Linked DNA regions of Homo sapiens: region 1 is linked to region 2. The links are contacts of gene promoters, found by promoter capture Hi-C in blood cells and fetal thymus (Javierre and others, 2016). All regions are on one chromosome and are shown on one strand. Each heading gives the region's core, a stretch centred on a gene start or on the middle of the fragment in contact. The rest is flanking DNA. Distances are from core to core; before and after follow the strand shown. Region 1 overlaps ITSN2 (intersectin 2). Region 2 holds the start of ITSN2 (intersectin 2).

The links. The method cuts DNA at HindIII sites, captures the fragments that hold promoters and counts their contacts. A CHiCAGO score of 5 or more calls a contact.
Region 1: a fragment that was not itself captured here is called in contact with the fragment with the promoter of ITSN2 in region 2 in 1 of 17 cell types (endothelial precursors); the score reaches 5.4 in endothelial precursors.

What each region holds. Positions count from the first base shown.
Region 1 is chr2:24,265,450-24,269,625 of GRCh38, forward strand. All of the region lies in intron 20 of ITSN2 (intersectin 2), which reads right to left. Among named protein-coding and RNA genes, the nearest start is that of FAM228A, 92 kb to the left of the region's middle. The HindIII fragment of the contact is 1,484 bases long and covers 925-2,408 here.
Region 2 is chr2:24,358,806-24,362,923 of GRCh38, forward strand. ITSN2 (intersectin 2) reads right to left here and starts at 1,731. Exons shown (of 40, transcript NM_006277.3): 1 at 1,499-1,731. RefSeq lists silencers at 1,145-1,544, 1,555-1,604, 1,615-1,914 and an enhancer at 2,015-2,164. The HindIII fragment of the contact is 2,111 bases long and covers 462-2,572 here.

The DNA of each region.
Region 1 (4,176 bases), core at 417-2,916, 93 kb before region 2:
GCAACCTTGCTAAACTCATTTAAATAGTTCTAGTAGCTTAATAGATTCTATGGGACTTTTTACATAGATTATCATGTCTTCTGCAAATCAATACAGTCTGTCTTCTCCTTTTCCAATCTTGATGCCTTTTACTCTATGGTAAGCCACTTTAGACCCATTAGGATTTTTCTCCTAGCAGATGTTGTCTCTCTAGTTTAAAGCTCTTAAAAGTTCAAACTTCTTAGTGTAGAATTTGAATACTCTGAAATTACAGTTTCTTTGTCAGGTTTCAACTTACCTTTCTAGCTTCATCTCTTACCATTTGTTCGATATTCTAGGCAAATAGTTATATGACATTCTTTAAAAACACCTGGCACATGCAAGCCTCAATGTTTTTATTTAAGGTATTCTCTTCTGCCCAGAATATTACATGGTTTAGAGGAAATACTACAGACTTGAGAGTTAAAAGAACCACATTTCAGTCTTAGCCATGCTACCTGGTTATCCTTCGTTAAGATAATGAATGCTATCTTGTGTGCTTTGTCATCTACAAATTTGGGGGGAAATACCTGTGCTGCCCTCCTCTAGGGTATCTTTCAGAATTAAATTGAGTATATTTATGAAGGCGCTTTGGAAACTGTAAAGCACTAAGCAAATATAAGGCATAATCCTTCAAGGCCTTCCTCCATCCTATCCTTGGGAAAAATGTTCCCCAATTCTATTTGGTTGTTTTTCCTTCATTCTCTGGGTTCCCACAGTACTTACTCATATAAATTAGTATTGAAATTTATCATGTTATATTTTGTACAGTAATACACATTTCTTTTTTTTCCTAGACTGTGGTCTCCTTATTCATTTTTGTATGTCACCAGAGGCACATGGTTACAAACTCAACAAATGTTAACTTGAATGGATTATTCTAAATTTGATTAACAATAGACTTAAAGCTTAATTAGTAATAAATGGATTATTAGGGCAACTTCATTTATGTTTATGGTAAATAATTCTCATTTTAATGTTATATGTCTGGCTATTTATTACATCATGAATGAAATATTTAGAAAACTCCTAAACCAGAGCTGCTATGGCTAAACTGTATGATGTCACAGTAATGTAGCTCCCATAAAATGGTGTTCTAAAATAGTTAGAATGAAAGCAAACACTTATGAAATATTATCCTGTAAATCTAGTTTAAGACTAGTTTAAAATAGTTAAGTCTGCCAGGCACGGTGGTTCATGCCTGTAATCACAGCACTTTGGGAAGCCAAGGTAAGAGGGTTGCTTGAGGCCAGGAGTTTGAGACAAGCGTAGGCAACATAGTGAGAAACTCCATCTCCACAAAAAAAAAAAAAAAAAAAAATAGCCAGGTGTGGTGGTGTGTGCCTGTAGTCTCCACTACTCAAGAGGTTGAGGTGGGAGGATGGCGTGAGCTCGGGTGGTCGAGGCTGTAGTGAGCCATGATCCCGCCACTGCACTCCAGCCTGGGTAACAGATTGAGACCCAGTTTCAAAAATAAATAAATAAATAAAATAAAATAGCTAAGCCAGAGCAATATAAATTCAGACAAGAATACAATAAACCCTGAGGAATTACACAAACCAAAGTATTTCAATGCTGCAAAATGCTCAGCATTGTACCTGATTTAAATGTATTGTCTTGGACATGGATGACGCTGAAAACCATCATTCCCAGCAAACTAACACAGAAACAGAAAACCAAACACCACATGTTCTCACTCACAAGTGGGAGTTGAACAATGAGAACACATGGACACAGGGAGGGGAACATCACACAGCGGGACCTGTCAGGGGGTGGGGGACTAGGGGAGGAAAGCATTAGGAGAAATACCTAACGTAGATGACAGGTTGATGGGTGCAGCAAACCACCATGGCACATGTATACCTATGTAACAAACCTGCACGTTCTGCACATGTATCCCAGAACTTAAAGTATAAAAAAAAAAAAAAAGTATGGTCTTAAGGAAAGGAATCACCGTAAGCTATGAGTATTGGCTATATATAGGTACACATATGTACATACATACATACACACACACACATTTACCACATTTACTTACATGCCCTTCCTACTTTCCTTTCTACCTCCCTTCACTGACGGACTTGGCTGGCTGGCTGACTTTTCAGACAGGGTCTTACTCTGTCACCCAGGCTACTAGAGTGCAGTGGTGCAATCACAGCTCACTGTAGCCTTGACCTCCTGGGCTCAAGTGATTCTGCCACCTCAGTCTCCACAGCAGGTGGGACTACAGGTGCACACCACCAAGCCCCGCTAATTTTTTTTTACTTTTTGTAGAAACAGGGTCTTCCTATGTTGCCCAGGCTGGTCTCTAACGCCAGTACCTACGTGATACTCCTGCCTCGGCCTCTCAAAGTGCTGGGATTATGGGTGTGCACCTGCACCTGGCCAAAAGCTTTTAAAAGTATTAATTTCTAGATACACTTTTTCCTAGTGTTTTCAACCTAATCAAGAAGAAAAATCTCGTTCATTTATTCTGTAGTTAGGCCAAGTTGTTTTAGTAAGAGGTCAATTTTAATCTCTTTCACATCTGTCATTTATAGTTGTAATTAATTTTTAGTTGTTAATTTACATACTGAGTTAAACTGAACATTTTATATAAATTCTCACAGGCCTAGCAAAACTACTTATTACTTCTTCTTAACTACTTATTAATTAATGTTAGCAAAATAGCATTAACAGATTAGAAGGCTAGAAAAACATTTCAGCTTGTCATCGAAAATGTGGCCAAGACTCAGTGGAATTTCTAATCCTTTTCACTTTCAATGAAACCTCCGGTAACACCCTCATCCATTAAGTTGATCAGACCTTGCCTCCTATCTTACCGGGAATTTGGAAGTCCTGGGACCTGACTTCATCTTCTACTTCAGCAAAATTTACTTTAATCCCTCCCACCCTTTCTTCCTGCCCTCTAATGACAAAGGATAAGGTATTCAATCCTTCTACCACTCTCTTCCAGGGCTCCAGATTCCAGCCTTCTAGCCTTTTCAAGAATCTTCCTCATCTCCATCTATTAGTCAGAACAGGGAGGTTTGACAAGGAACATGAAGTGCCTTCCTGATGCTGTACGTTCTACACACTGATCTGAGGGGGGCTTCACAGATACACAGATGTGTACACATTCTTTGAGCTGTATACTTATGGTTGTACACTTTGCTATATATAAATTATACTTTAATAAGAAAAAACAATCTTTATCAGTTATTTATACTCTTTCCATTATCATTAACCTGTTTCCTCTCTGCAGATCCTTTCTACTATTATTTAAACTTGCTCAAGCTTCAGCCAACTTTAAAAAAAAAAAAAACTTCCCTCAACCCACATTTCTCATTATTTACTACCTTCTCTCCTTCTCCCTTTCAAAGCCAAGCTCATTCAAAGAGTTTTATATATTCACTGTCTCCTCTTCCTCTCTTCCAATTTATTCCAACTCACTGAAATCTGGCTTCTCGCTCTACTAGTCCACTTAACTGATACTGCTGTCCTCAAGTTAACAACACCTGTGCTATTGCTAATCTAATAATTTTTTTAGTCCTTGTTTTATTTCACTTGCAGATCACTCTTCTCAAAGTTCCCTAACATTAAACTCTCCTGTTTTTTTTTTTTTCCTACTACTAGTCACTCCTTTTAAGGCTCCACTTCCTCTAATAATTCCTTCAGTGTCCATGTTTCTCAGGAACTGCATCCTCAATCCTCTTCTCTCTCACGTTACTACTCCCCTGGATGAGCTCCATTACTCTCATGTCTTCCAACACCATCACATCACACTGGCGACATCCAGATTTACATCCTCAGCCCAGACCGCTGCCTGACATCTCTCTAGGTACTCTGGAGATCCAACTACTACTGCCTGGACATCTGAAACTCATACAAAACTGAACTCATAATTCTACTTATATATTCCCCCTCTGATTTTCCCTCTTAGGAAATGACACCATCATTAACCAATTTGTTCAAATCAGGCAACTCATGACTGACAGTAGTAACTCATGACTAATACTTCATGTTAATGATTCAGCAGAGTACACAAGCACCCAAGACACACAGCTAACTTTATGTTTCTGTTGTCACTGCCACCAGAATGGCTCTCTGACCATGGGAGAGGTCTGTGCTAAAGCTGGTAGCAGTCTACAACCTTTTCCTTACCTTCCTTCCTCTACT
Region 2 (4,118 bases), core at 481-2,980:
GAGATCAAGATTTTAGCCTTGAGATGTACCGAACAATGGTAACTCCCTGCTTAGTAATTCTGTACAGGTCAAGTTTTCTTGGACGAGTTTACCTTTCATTACAAAGGTGGGCACAGGGAATAGTTATCAATGCATGGAAGGGTGAAAAAATGCAAGCTTTTCAACTGCTTATTAATATTACATCAAAATAGCAGCAATGCACATTTTTTCCACGTTTTCAAAAACATAAAATACATCCACTTTATTTACTTTTGAAATTACAAGAGAGTCACAGGCACAGCCAAAAAAAGCTAAAGGAAAACACATCAGAGTTGTCAGTATCTTTAAATTTGGAAGGACGTCATTATTAATTCGCGTAAATGTTTTATGCGATGTTTCTAGGTAGCTTTTAGGTTTTATCACTGATTAACAATATAGCAAACCAGCACAGGGAGAGAGGCAATTTTTCGAAACGCTTAAGAAGCTTTAAACTACAAGAGCTATGCTACCTAAACTGAGCTCACTAACAACGTAAAATTTCAAGTCACACCTTGCCTATTTCTGAGTAAGCAAGCAAACACTAGTGAGACAAACTAGAAGCATGGAGCAAAGCAAGTCATTTCTATGCTAACCTTAATTCCTATCGTAAAGGGGTTGGCTCCATCAAAAAATATTCCTATTTCAGTATTAACACAAGTTTCAAATAAAGCACACTTGCCATTGGTAATTCTAGAGCGACAAGGCGCATAATTAATAAATCCAAACGGAGCATCTTTCTATAGAATACAAAGCCATCTGCAGTTTCAGCCTCGGTTTACCCACTCACTATGCATATGCAGACGTCTTTAAAAATAAATAAATAAATACACAAATAAACTTTATCTGGCCTGAGAGATTACATCTCTCGGTGCTTCCTGTATATTCTGGAAGTCAATAACGCTGAAGGTAAATTTAACATTTCCAACTCCGGAGGAACGCGAGCGGTAGACGCCAAGCATCCGCCCACTGTCCTCTCGTGACTCGGGCTACTTTGACGCACCGGGATGCGGCTCACCTGACATTCGGCACCAACCCTTGCCAGGAAGGAAAACCAACTCCGCGAAAATAAAATGGGTCCCCGAGGAGGCGTGCGGGTGCCCCCAGAGCTCTCTTCTGCTCACACCCCGAAAGCGAGGGGGCCACGCCACCCCCGACCCTCGCCGGCGTCCGCCACCTGCCAGACGAGGCCGCGGCCAGGGACCCGGGCTCGGCCGCAAGGAAGGGGCAGCCCAGCCCAGGCCCCCTCGGCGTCTGTCCCGGCCCGGCAGCAGAGGAAGGAACCCGGGGCCGGAGGTTTCCGCCCCGCACGGCCGAGCCCGCCAGGGGCCTAGCTCGGGGGCCGCCCGTACTCCCGAGGACCCGTCCCCATCGTGCGGAGCGCACAGCCGCCTCAGCCCGACCCGCAGAGCCTCCGGGCAGCGGGCGCGGCGCCCGCACCTGCCCCGCGCCTTGCTGCAGCCCCGCTAGCGGCTTCACCCACCTGGCGCCCTCGCCGCGCCTCCCGCTCGTCACAGCGCGACTCCGCGTCCCTCAGCACCGGCAGCCTGGGCGCGGGCAGGCGCGGGGAGACCCTGCTCTGCCGCCGTCGCCGCCACTGCAGCTGGCTTGGTCGTCAGGCCGCCGCCCGCGAACCTGTTGCGTAGCCTGTCACAGCCGCTCAGGGCTCCGCCGGCGCCGCCTCAGCCCCACAACAACATGGCGGCCGCGGCCTCCGCAGGAAGCCGGGGGGCGGGGAGGTAGGCGCCGGGCCGGGCAGCTGACGGCCCGCCCGCTGCCGGGCACCGACTCCCCACCCTCCGGAGCCCGAAACTGCCCGGGCGTGGCTCCTCGCCCCAGGAGTTCCGGGGCATTGAACCCTGAAGGTCTGCTCCGAGTCGGTCGGGTCCGAAGCGCTCCTCTCTGCCCTCGGGGAGGCCCCGAAGCCCCAGACCTGGCAGCCCTTCCTGGAGTTGCACAGACCCACCTGGCTCCTCCTCCCCGAGGTAACATGCTGAGCTTGGGTGGTGCTTTTCCTGCCACGGCAGACGCCGGGGTTTTGGAAAGTCCCAAGCAGTGCCTGCCACATCCCTGTTGCACCCACCACGGGGTTCTCCCTGGAACCTTCTCACTCGCCGAAGTTTTCTCCACTGATCTGGGGGAACGAATTCTCTGGGAATTGGGGGGTGGAAGGTGGGAAGGAGGTTGATCCCACCCTTGCCCATGGGTCTGTTACAGGCCTCTTGAACCCTTCTCAGGGACCTGGAGGACTTAACCATACCCTCGGTCATCCATTCACCATTCCTCGCCCTCCTCCATAACACACGCGGAGCGCCCACGAGGAGCACCCTCTACGCTAGTCACACTCCGCCGAGCAGTAGGAAGACTCTGTCCCCATAGAGCATAGCACGACGAAGCTAAACTTTCCTCCCCACCCCTCGCCAAGGGACAGGCGAAGCTCCTACTCAGAATTTGTCTCTTTTCTCCCCTCCCGGTTCCTGGTCTCCTCACAAAAGACCAGACTTCAACTCAAGCCGCCACCGTATCCCAAAACCCCAAAGGTTTGCCCTTGACAAGAAGCTTCTTCAAGGGGAAAGGCTTTCTTTTGATTGGGGTGAGGGAGGAGTTAGTGTTTCCTAATGAACGTAACCAAATGTCGGCCTGGCACAGTGGCTCACGCTTGTAACCCCGGCACTTTGGGAGGCCGAGGCAGGTGGATCATCTGAGGTCAGGAGTTGGAGACCAGCCTGGCCAACATGGTGAAACCCCGCCTCTTCTAACAATACAAAAATTAGCTGGGCGTGGTGGCGGGCGCCTGTAGTCCCAGCTACTCGGAAGGCTGAGGCAGGAGAATCGCTTGAACCTGGGAGGCGGAGGTTGCAGTGAGCAGAGATTGCACCACTGTACTCCAGCCTGGGCGACAAGAGCGAAACTCTGTCTCAAAAAAAAAAAAGTAACCAAATGTAAGACTCAAGATTTTTGGATATAAGACCCAAGATTTCTTTTTTTTTTTTTTTTTTTTTTTTTTTTTTTCCTGAGACAGACTCTCACTCCGTTGCCCAGGCTGGAGTGCAGTGGCGCAACTGTGAGATCTGTGCTCACTGCAACCTCCGCCTCCCAGGTTCAAGCAATTCTCCTGCCTCAGCCTTCCAAGTACCTGGGATTACAGGCACTTGCCACCACGCCCGGCTAATTTTTGTATTTTTAGTAGACACTGGTTTCACCATGTTGGCCAGGCTGGTCTCAAACTCCTGACCTCAGGTGATCCACCCGCCTCATCCTCCCAAAGTGCTGGGATTGGCGTGAGCCACCACGCCCGGCCAAGACCCAAGATTTATTTTGGCTTTTAGAAGCAGGGTGAGGGCTGGTCTGGGGTCCAAAACTCATATCCCTTGATTTGATCTGTGTAGATCAAATAACCCCTGGCATCCTTTCATTCCTTACCTGTTGAGGCAGGTGAAGGTGAGATGGCTCCAAACCCAGGCCTATCTGAACTGGCCAGCCAGCTTAGGAGGAATTTACCAAACATCGATGATGATAAACAGGCTTTTCCCGCTCTCACACTCAGTGTTTTTCCTAACTCTTCGATTAGAACCTGACCAAGACCTGACAGACAGGTCCTGAGCTTCAGTGACACAGAGAAGCCTGACTCTTTTATCAGTCTAGGAGGCCCCTCACTTGCTGGGGACCAGCCAATCTGTCCTTATCTGCAAACAAACCACCCAGGCCAAGGATAGCAATCTTGAGCACGTGGCCTCATTCCCATTGCACCCTTCACCAGTTAACTGATATGCTCTTTTGGAGCCCATATTTGAGAGTCAAAGCCCCAGAATCCTTCACAACATAGTGCTCCAGAGAGTTGGTCTGAGAGGTAAAACCTATTTTTTATTCCTGTTAGGCACATAGCTAGTCTTCATTTTTCTCCCATCCTTTGACCAATGTCATTTGTGTTTTCGGGTTCTAGACCTGGTGCAATTTACCCTGAGTCTCCTTTCCTTCTAAAGGAGGTGCCAAATCCTTGGCAGGACAAAAATGGAATTTGTAGAAAGAGATGCTTATAAAGGAATAAAAAAAAATTTAAAGCCCCCCTAAAATAAACCAAAAAACTAACAACCTCTGCTGGA